Linked DNA regions of Homo sapiens: region 1 is linked to region 2. The links are contacts of gene promoters, found by promoter capture Hi-C in human tissues and cell types (Jung and others, 2019). All regions are on one chromosome and are shown on one strand. The core of a region is centred on a gene start or on the middle of the fragment in contact, and the rest is flanking DNA. Distances in the headings are between cores, read along the strand shown.

The links. The method cuts DNA at HindIII sites, captures the fragments that hold promoters and counts their contacts. A contact is called where the count stands out against the background at its distance.
Region 1: a fragment that was not itself captured here is called in contact with the fragment with the promoter of IL18BP in region 2 in 2 of the 25 tissues and cell types used here (dorsolateral prefrontal cortex and hippocampus).

What each region holds. Positions count from the first base shown.
Region 1 is chr11:72,506,717-72,510,539 of GRCh38, reverse strand. No RefSeq gene overlaps it. Among named protein-coding and RNA genes, the nearest start is that of LINC01537, 62 kb to the left of the region's middle. The HindIII fragment of the contact is 8,278 bases long and covers 1-3,823 here.
Region 2 is chr11:71,997,561-72,001,420 of GRCh38, reverse strand. IL18BP (interleukin 18 binding protein) reads right to left here and starts at 2,512. Exons shown (of 6, transcript NM_001039660.2): 1 at 2,402-2,512; 2 at 1,409-1,494; 3 at 864-1,070; 4 at 97-220; 5 at 1-16. The coding sequence starts at 1,436. RNF121 (ring finger protein 121) reads right to left here. Exons shown (of 9, transcript NM_018320.5): 9 at 3,824-3,860. The HindIII fragment of the contact is 6,503 bases long and covers 1,842-3,860 here.

The sequences.
Region 1 (3,823 bases), core at 727-3,226, 510 kb before region 2:
TCCCATCCCCACCATGCTGCACCCACTACTGGTGTAAGCACATGCAGGAACACTGCCACCCTGCTCCAGCTAATGCCCTGCCTCAGACAATGCACGTGTACCCCCACCACACTGCCACAGTTACTGGCACATGCAGGGGAGCATGGATCCCGCTGCCACTGCCCCAACAAAGTTCTTTAGCTGGCACCACTCATTGGAGTGTTGTGGCCAGTGGATCAGGAGCACTGTGGCCCCTTCAGTACAGCAGGTTCCTAACCTCAAGAGGCCAGAGAATAAAGCCAAGAGCCCAGTACCAGCCTCCCAGAGCATGCTTCCCAGGACTACTGAGCTGAGACTGGGCCTCCGAAAATCTTTCAGAAATGAAGCCAGTCAACTAAACCCACTTTATACCACAATCAAACCCCCAAGGGGATCAAAGAAGATAAAAACAAAAAATTCTATCCAAAGGACAGCAACTTCAAAGATTGAAGGAATATCAGCCCACATAAACGAGAAAGAACCAGTGCAAGAACTCTGGCAAGTCAAAAAGCCAAAATGTCCTCTTACCTCCAAATAATGGCACTACTTCCCCAGGAATGGTTCTTAATTAGGCTGAAATGACAGATACAGAATTCAGAACATGGATAGGAATGAAGATCATTGAGATTCAGGAGAAAGTCAGAACCCAATCCAAGGAATCTAAGGAATATAATAAAACAACACAGGAACTGAAAGATGAAATGGCCATTTGAAGAAAGAATCAAACTGATATGATTGAGCTGAAAACCTTACTTCAAGAATTTCATAATTACAAATATTGATAGCAGAATAAACCAAGCTGAGGAAAGAATCTCAGAGCTTGAAGGCCAGTCCTCCAATGTAACTCAGTCAGACAAAAGTGAAGAAATAAAAAAGAATGAACAAAATCTCTGAGAAAGATGGTATTATGTAAAGAGACCAAATCTATGACTCATTGGCATCCCTGAAAGAGAGGGAGAAAAAGCAAACAACTTGGAAAACATATCTGAAGATATCATTCTTGAAAATCTTTCCAACCTCGCTACAGAGGCCAACAGTCAAATTCAGGAAATGCAGAGAACCCCTGTGAGGTACTGTATAAGATGACCATCCCTAAGACACATAGTCATCAGATTCTCCAAAGTTGAAATGAAAGAAAAAATGTTTAAGGCAGCTAGAGAGAAAGGGCAGGTCATCAACAAAGGGAACCTCATCAGGCTAACAGTGAACCTGTCAGTAGAAACTCTACAAGCCAGAAGAGATTGGTGGCCTATATTCAGCATTCTTTTATATATTTATTTATTTTTTGAGATGGAGTCTTGCATTGTTGCCCAGGCTGGAGTGCAGTGGTGTAATCTCGGCTCACTGCAAGCTCTGCCTGCTGGGTTCACACCATTCTCCTGCCTCAGCCTCCCAAGTAGCTGGGACTACAGGCGCCTGCCACCACACCCGGCTAATTTTTTGTATTTTTAGTGGAGACGGATTTCACCATGCTAGCCAGGATGGTCTCGATCTCCTGACGTCATGATCTGCCCACCTCGGCCTCCCAAAGTGCTGGGATTACAGGCATGAGCCATCGTGCCCGGCCTATTCAGCATTCTTAAAGAAAAGAAATTCCAACCAAGAATTTCATATCCAGCTAATGTAGTTTGGATATTTGTCCCTGCCCAAATCTCATGTTGAATTGTAATCCCCAATGCTGTAAGTGGGGCCTGGTGGGAGGGGTTTTGGTCATGGGGGTGGATCCCTCACGGCTTGGTGGTGTCTTTGCAATAGTGAGTTCTTGCCAAGATCTGGCCATTTAAAAGTGGACCTCCCCCTACACTCTCACTTGTTCCTGCTTTCACCATGTGACCTGCCTGTTCCCCTTTCACCTTCCACCGTGATTGAATGCTCCTCAACAGTTCAACAGAGCCAAGCAGATACCAGCACCATCCTTTCTGTAAAACCTGCAGAACTATGAGCCAATGAAACCTCTTTTCTTTATAAGTGACCCAGTCTCAGGTATTTCTTTATAGCAATGCAAGAATGGCCTAATACAGAAAATTGTTACTGAGGAGTGAGGCCTTGCTATAAAGATACCTGAAAACATGGAAGCAGCTTTGGAAATGGGTAACAGGCAGAGGTTGGAAGAGTTTGGAGGGCTCAGAAAAAGAGAGGAAGACCAAGGGAAGTCCAGAACTTCTTAGAGACTGGTTAAATGATTGTGACCAAAATGCTGATAGTGAGACAGCCAGGTGGGAGGGAGTCCCTGGAGAAACTCCAACCAGCCTGCCCACTGAGGTGGAGCCTCAGGAAGTTCATGACCTTTGCAGCAGGGAGGAGCCTGGTGCCTCCTCTTCCTGTGTGGAACCTGGGATTCAATCACCCGGGCAGGAAGCACTCTAGTGGAGGGACTCTGGCCTAGTGAGAGTCCCTGTTTCCCCCTTTTCTTCCTTTTAACCCAGTAAAACCCTGCTTCACTCACCCTTCAAATCATCTACGAGCCTAAATTTTTGTGGCTGTGGGATGGACAAGGACCCCATCTTTCACTCAATTAAGGAAAAGTCTTACAACAATAGTAATATGGATGATGAAGTCCAGGCTTATGAGGTCTCAGATGGAAATGAGAAACGTATTGGGAACTGGAGCAAAGGTCATGTGTGTTATGCCTTAGCAAAAAACTTGTCTCCATTTTGTCCATGTCCTAAGGATCTGTGGAAGTTTAAACTAAAGAGTGATGATTTAGGGCAAGGGTATCCAATCTTTTGGCTTCCCTGGGCCACAGTGGAAGAAGAATTGTTCTTGGACCATACATAAAATACACTAACACTAACGATAGCTGATGAGCTAGAAAAAAAAAATCACAAAAAACTCACAATGTTTTAAGAAAGTTTATGAATTTGTATTGGGCTTCACTCAAAGTCATTCTGGGTCACATGCGGCCAGCAGGCTGCAGGTTGGACAAACTTGATTTAGGGTATTTGGCAGAAGAAATTTCTAAGCAGCAAAGTGTTCAAGATGTGGCCTGGCTGCTTTGAACAACCTACACTCAGATTTGAGAGAAAAGAAAAGACTTAAGTTTGGAGTTTATATTTAGACAGGAAGCAGAGCATAAAAGTTTGGGAAATTTGAAGGTTGGCCATGTAGCAGAGAAAGAAAAAGCTTTTCTGGGAGAGGAATTGTAGCAGGCAGCAGAACACCCATTTGCTACAGAAATTTGCATAACTAAAAGGGATCCAAGTGCTGGTAACCAAGACAATGGGAAAAAGACCGCAAAGGCATTTCAGAGATCTAAGAGGTAGCACCTCTCACCACAGGCTCTGAGGCCTAGGAGGAAAGAATGGTTTCGGGGGCCAAGGCTCCACTTCCCTGCATAACCTCAGGATTCTGTTCCCTGCATCCAGGACACTCCAGCTCCAGCCTCAGCTCAAAAGGCCCCAGATACAGCTCATGCTGTTGCTTCAGAGGGTGCAAGCCATAAGCCTTGGTGGCTTTCATATGGTGTTAAGCCTTTAGATGCACAGAGTGCAAGAGTGATTGAGGCTTGGCATCACTGCCTAGATTTCGGATGATGTATGGAAAAGCCTGGGCACCTAGGCAGAAGCCTGCTGCAAGTGGAGAGTCCTCACAGAAAACCTCTACTATGGCAGTGTGGAGAAAAAATGTAGGGTTGAAGCTCCCACACGGGGTCCCCACTGGGGCACTGCCTAGTGGAGCTATGGGAAGGGGGCCACCATCTCCTAGACCCCAGAACAGTAGATCCATCAGCAGCTTGCTCTCTGCACCCCAAGAAAATCCACAAGCACTCAACTCCAACCTGTGAGGATAGCCACAGGGGCTGATC
Region 2 (3,860 bases), core at 1,263-3,762:
GCTCCCACGTTCCCGGCTGGAGCGGAAGGGAAGGAAAGGTCATGAGAAGGCCGCAGAAGGCCTCCTTCCCACCCACCTGGCTGCTGCGACCCTCACCTGGTGCTCCCCTCCCACAGTCGGCCTGGGAGGTGCTCAATGAAGGAACCATTGCCCAGCCAGTAGAGGATGCTGAAGTTGGGGAAGCGGCTGCAGGCCACACAGGATAAGCTCAGCGTTCCATCTAGGGACACAGGCAGCAGTTAGCTCTTCAGAAGAGCAGGCCCTTCCCCTACCCTGCTCTGCTGTGCCCTCCCTGCCAGCTCCCCCCAGTCCCCATGCATCTGGAACCTAGAGAACTGCTCTGCACACCACCTAGGTGGGAACGTCCGTTACAGAAGTGCAGTTGTCTCCGAGAGGCCCTAGCCCTAAACACGGGGAATGTGAGGAATGGTCCTTGGTTCACGTGATGAATCCTCTTCTGAACCTGTCTCCTCAGGATGACCTTTTCTAGTGCCCAGCCTCGGTGACTTGGGAGCCCAGGTGACAAAGGCAGTGCTGGATGGCTGCTGCTCCTCTGAGATGGCCAGAGGCCAGCAGGCTCTGGGTGGAGGGGCTGGCCTTGGGGTCCACTGCAACCAAGGCTCTGGGAGGTCCTGTGACCATTACTTATGTCTTGAGTTCTCTGTCCTATTTGATAGGGAGCATCTTGGGAGCTGCGCCAAGCCTGCACCCATGACACTGGGTTGGGGAGGGAGAATGGTGCGTGCTCAGCCCAGCTGGCTCAGCTGGTGGTACATGGGCAGAAGGGGACTGGCGCTCAGGAGTCAACCCGACCCTGGGAACCTCTGTGCCCATAGCCCACCCTCCACCACTGTGCTTCTTACTCAGTGGCACTTCCACCTCTGGCCAGGTCACTTCCAATGCTGGACACTGCTTAGCTGCTGGGAACACTGGGGGCTGGGAGGGGCAGGGGTCCTTTGTGCTTCTAACTGAGGCAGTGGCAGCTGTGGTGGTCTGCGAGACAGGTGTGGCTCTGACCAGGAGAGTGACGACGTGGGCACACAGGAGCAGGACCCACAAAGGGCTGAGGTCTGAGGAAAGGACAGTTACAGGTCAGCGGCTCTGGAGACAGAGTGGGCTGCCCGGGTAAGGATGTAACTCCAGCCCAGAGATGTCTGGGTTCTAGCCAGGGAATCAGAGCGGGAAGAGGGACCCCTCAGCACCCACCCCTTAGCCCTTTATTGAACAGAGTACAGAGAAGCTTTAGACTGGAGCCAGAGCTACAATATCTGCCCAGGTTCTTAAAGCAACAGCACCAGGTGCGCTGGGTGGTTTGCCTTGGAGTGAAGGCTCCGGGTTAGCCCATTGCTCCATTCTGTTCATAGACCTCACCCTACCCCGCCTGCCCATGCGTAGCCCCAAGGCCTACCTGGTGTCCAGTTGTGTCTCATGGTCATGATGCATGCGTCAGGAGCTGGTGAGCCTGGCTCTTTATCTGTGACAACGTCCTCTTCTCTGGTGAAAGGTGGGGGAGGAGAATGGTAAACCACTCCCGCTTTTTCTCAGTAGCTGGCTTTTCCTCAGTAGCTGGCTTCTCCTCCCGTAGCATAGCCTGGAGCTCTTTCAGCACTTAGAAACAGAGCTGGGGGGGTCAAGTGACAATCCTTCCCCACCCCAGCTCTCATGACCACAAATGGTTGTAAGATGCTTACCTAGTCCAATCTTACCCCTTCATTAGGGAAGGCAAAATTGAGACCCAAAGAGAGAATATGGACTCACCCAGTCACACAGGGAGGCAGTGCTCTCTTCAGCACCAGAGCTGCTTCTGGGAAGGGCAGGATGCCGAGCAATCCTTCTGGGAAAGCACTGCCCCGACCCTCTATTTCACTTTCACTTTTTAACCAGGGAATCTTGAGCAGCTGTGACACCTCTGCTTTAGCCAAAGTTCAGTGGCCAGAAACCTTCAGCTCCTGGGACTCCTACTCTCCAGAGGATACCAGACTGGGATCTCTAATCTACCCCCATGCCACCCCCAGGGTCACCTAGGGTATGAACTAGATGAGTCTCTCACAGATCAATTCTGTCCCGCCCAAGTGTCAGGACTTTGGTGTCCGCCTCCCCTCTTCACAGCCAGGTCTTTGTTTCCATATGAACAGGCATCTGCTTCCTCCTTCACCTTCACACTGACATTCAAGGGGACAACTTTCCTAGGCACTGGGGAACCCCAAGTTGGACCACTTCAGGCTCAATGCCATACCAGTCCGTCCACATCCTGGCCTTTCCCAGGCTACCCACTCCCCCAGCCACCAGCCCCAAGGTCGGCTACATCTCCCAGCACCCACCATCACACCCTCTGTCTCTCATCCTAGCCCCTCTGGCCAGAGCCACAGGTCTAGGTTCACTAGTAGTCCCAGACTCCTACCTGGCTCCTAAGAGGTCCTGAAGAGCCTTCCTTTCCAGAAGCTTCCCTCTAGGAGCTCCAAGACTCAAGTTAGCTGTGTCTAGCTGCGTGTGAACCCACCACAGGAAATACACCGAGAGCACTTCCTCCTTGTCTGTAGAACTCTCACGGCCAACCCAGGAACTGGCACACAAGCTCGAGAGCCAACCCTAACAGGAGGGAAGGGCAGGCACTTCCCGGGGAAGAGGCGGACTGGCTCAACACTGGCTCTGGCAACAGAGTCTACATCAGAATATGAATCTTGTCACTGATGGGACAAATGGCGCTGGGGCTGCGGGAGGGCCAGGATTCAGGGTGAGGCGTGTGAGGAACCTAGGATGCTAAATCTAAGGAGGTTTTCTCTCAGGGTCATGCAGTTATCCATGGAGGCAGAAAGACCAGGGCTGGGTGATCCAATGCATGCATATATTAAGTGTGGACAGGAGCTGCATGTCTGAGGTTTGTGACTCCTGTGATTGGGAGGGTGCAACGGCTGGTGACAGAGCCAGGGAGGCCCACAGATGGAACTGGGTTTGGTGGATGCATCAGGAACACAGTCAGCTGTGATCTCAAACTTCTTGTAGAAAAACCAGATTCATATTCCTAATTTAGACATAGGATACTACAAGTCACATCCTTCTTCTCTAGGTGTCTAGTTCATGTTTTTCCTCCTCTCAATTCCTCCCCCTACCTCCTGCCCCAGGGGCTTCTAGCATGTAAGATGCAGGAGAAATTCCTCCCAAGAACACCAGCATCTCCAGGAGTTAGGTCAGGAGGCAAGGCTGCCTGGGGTTTCTGAGAGAGACAGTCCAGTGGGGGATGGTAGGGAAAGATGACAGGACTCTGTCTTAGTGGAACCGAGACCAGAGTCAGGCCAAGGGGGGAGGTCAAGGGACTCAGAACTGTTACACATGAAAAGAGCTTTGGACAGCCTGGCCTCGGCTTCTCACCTGAGCCTGACAGGGGGGTGGGGGGAAAAAGTAAAAGGAAGGGTGATCCCTAGGTCCTCTGACCAGCCCCATTCCCCTCTCTGAGGAGGGGAACAGCCCCACAGGTGGCATAAGCAGCAGGGTACCATGGGAAGCCACAGCTGGGGAAGAGAAGCCGAGCCTGAGTGTGGTCCTCAGGAAGGCAGGTGGTGGCGGGACACTGTCCTCAGGCAGTGAGAACATAGAGCAACCTCAGTCTGAAGGCAGGCCCAATGATGCCCCAGGCCCCCAGGCCACAGGACAGGAGCCTGGCATTCCACCACTCCTAGGGATGTCAGCAGGGGAACAGCTGGGAACAGCAGAAAGGCAGGCCCAACCACCCCCAGACCCTCAGGTCTCCGATGGGGGTTAACAAAGGCAAGACACCCCTGGGGACCCCAGGGAAAGAGGTGGGAAGAAGAAAGCAAGATAAATGTTCAGCTTTCCAACCCAGCTCATGGAGCTTTATTCAG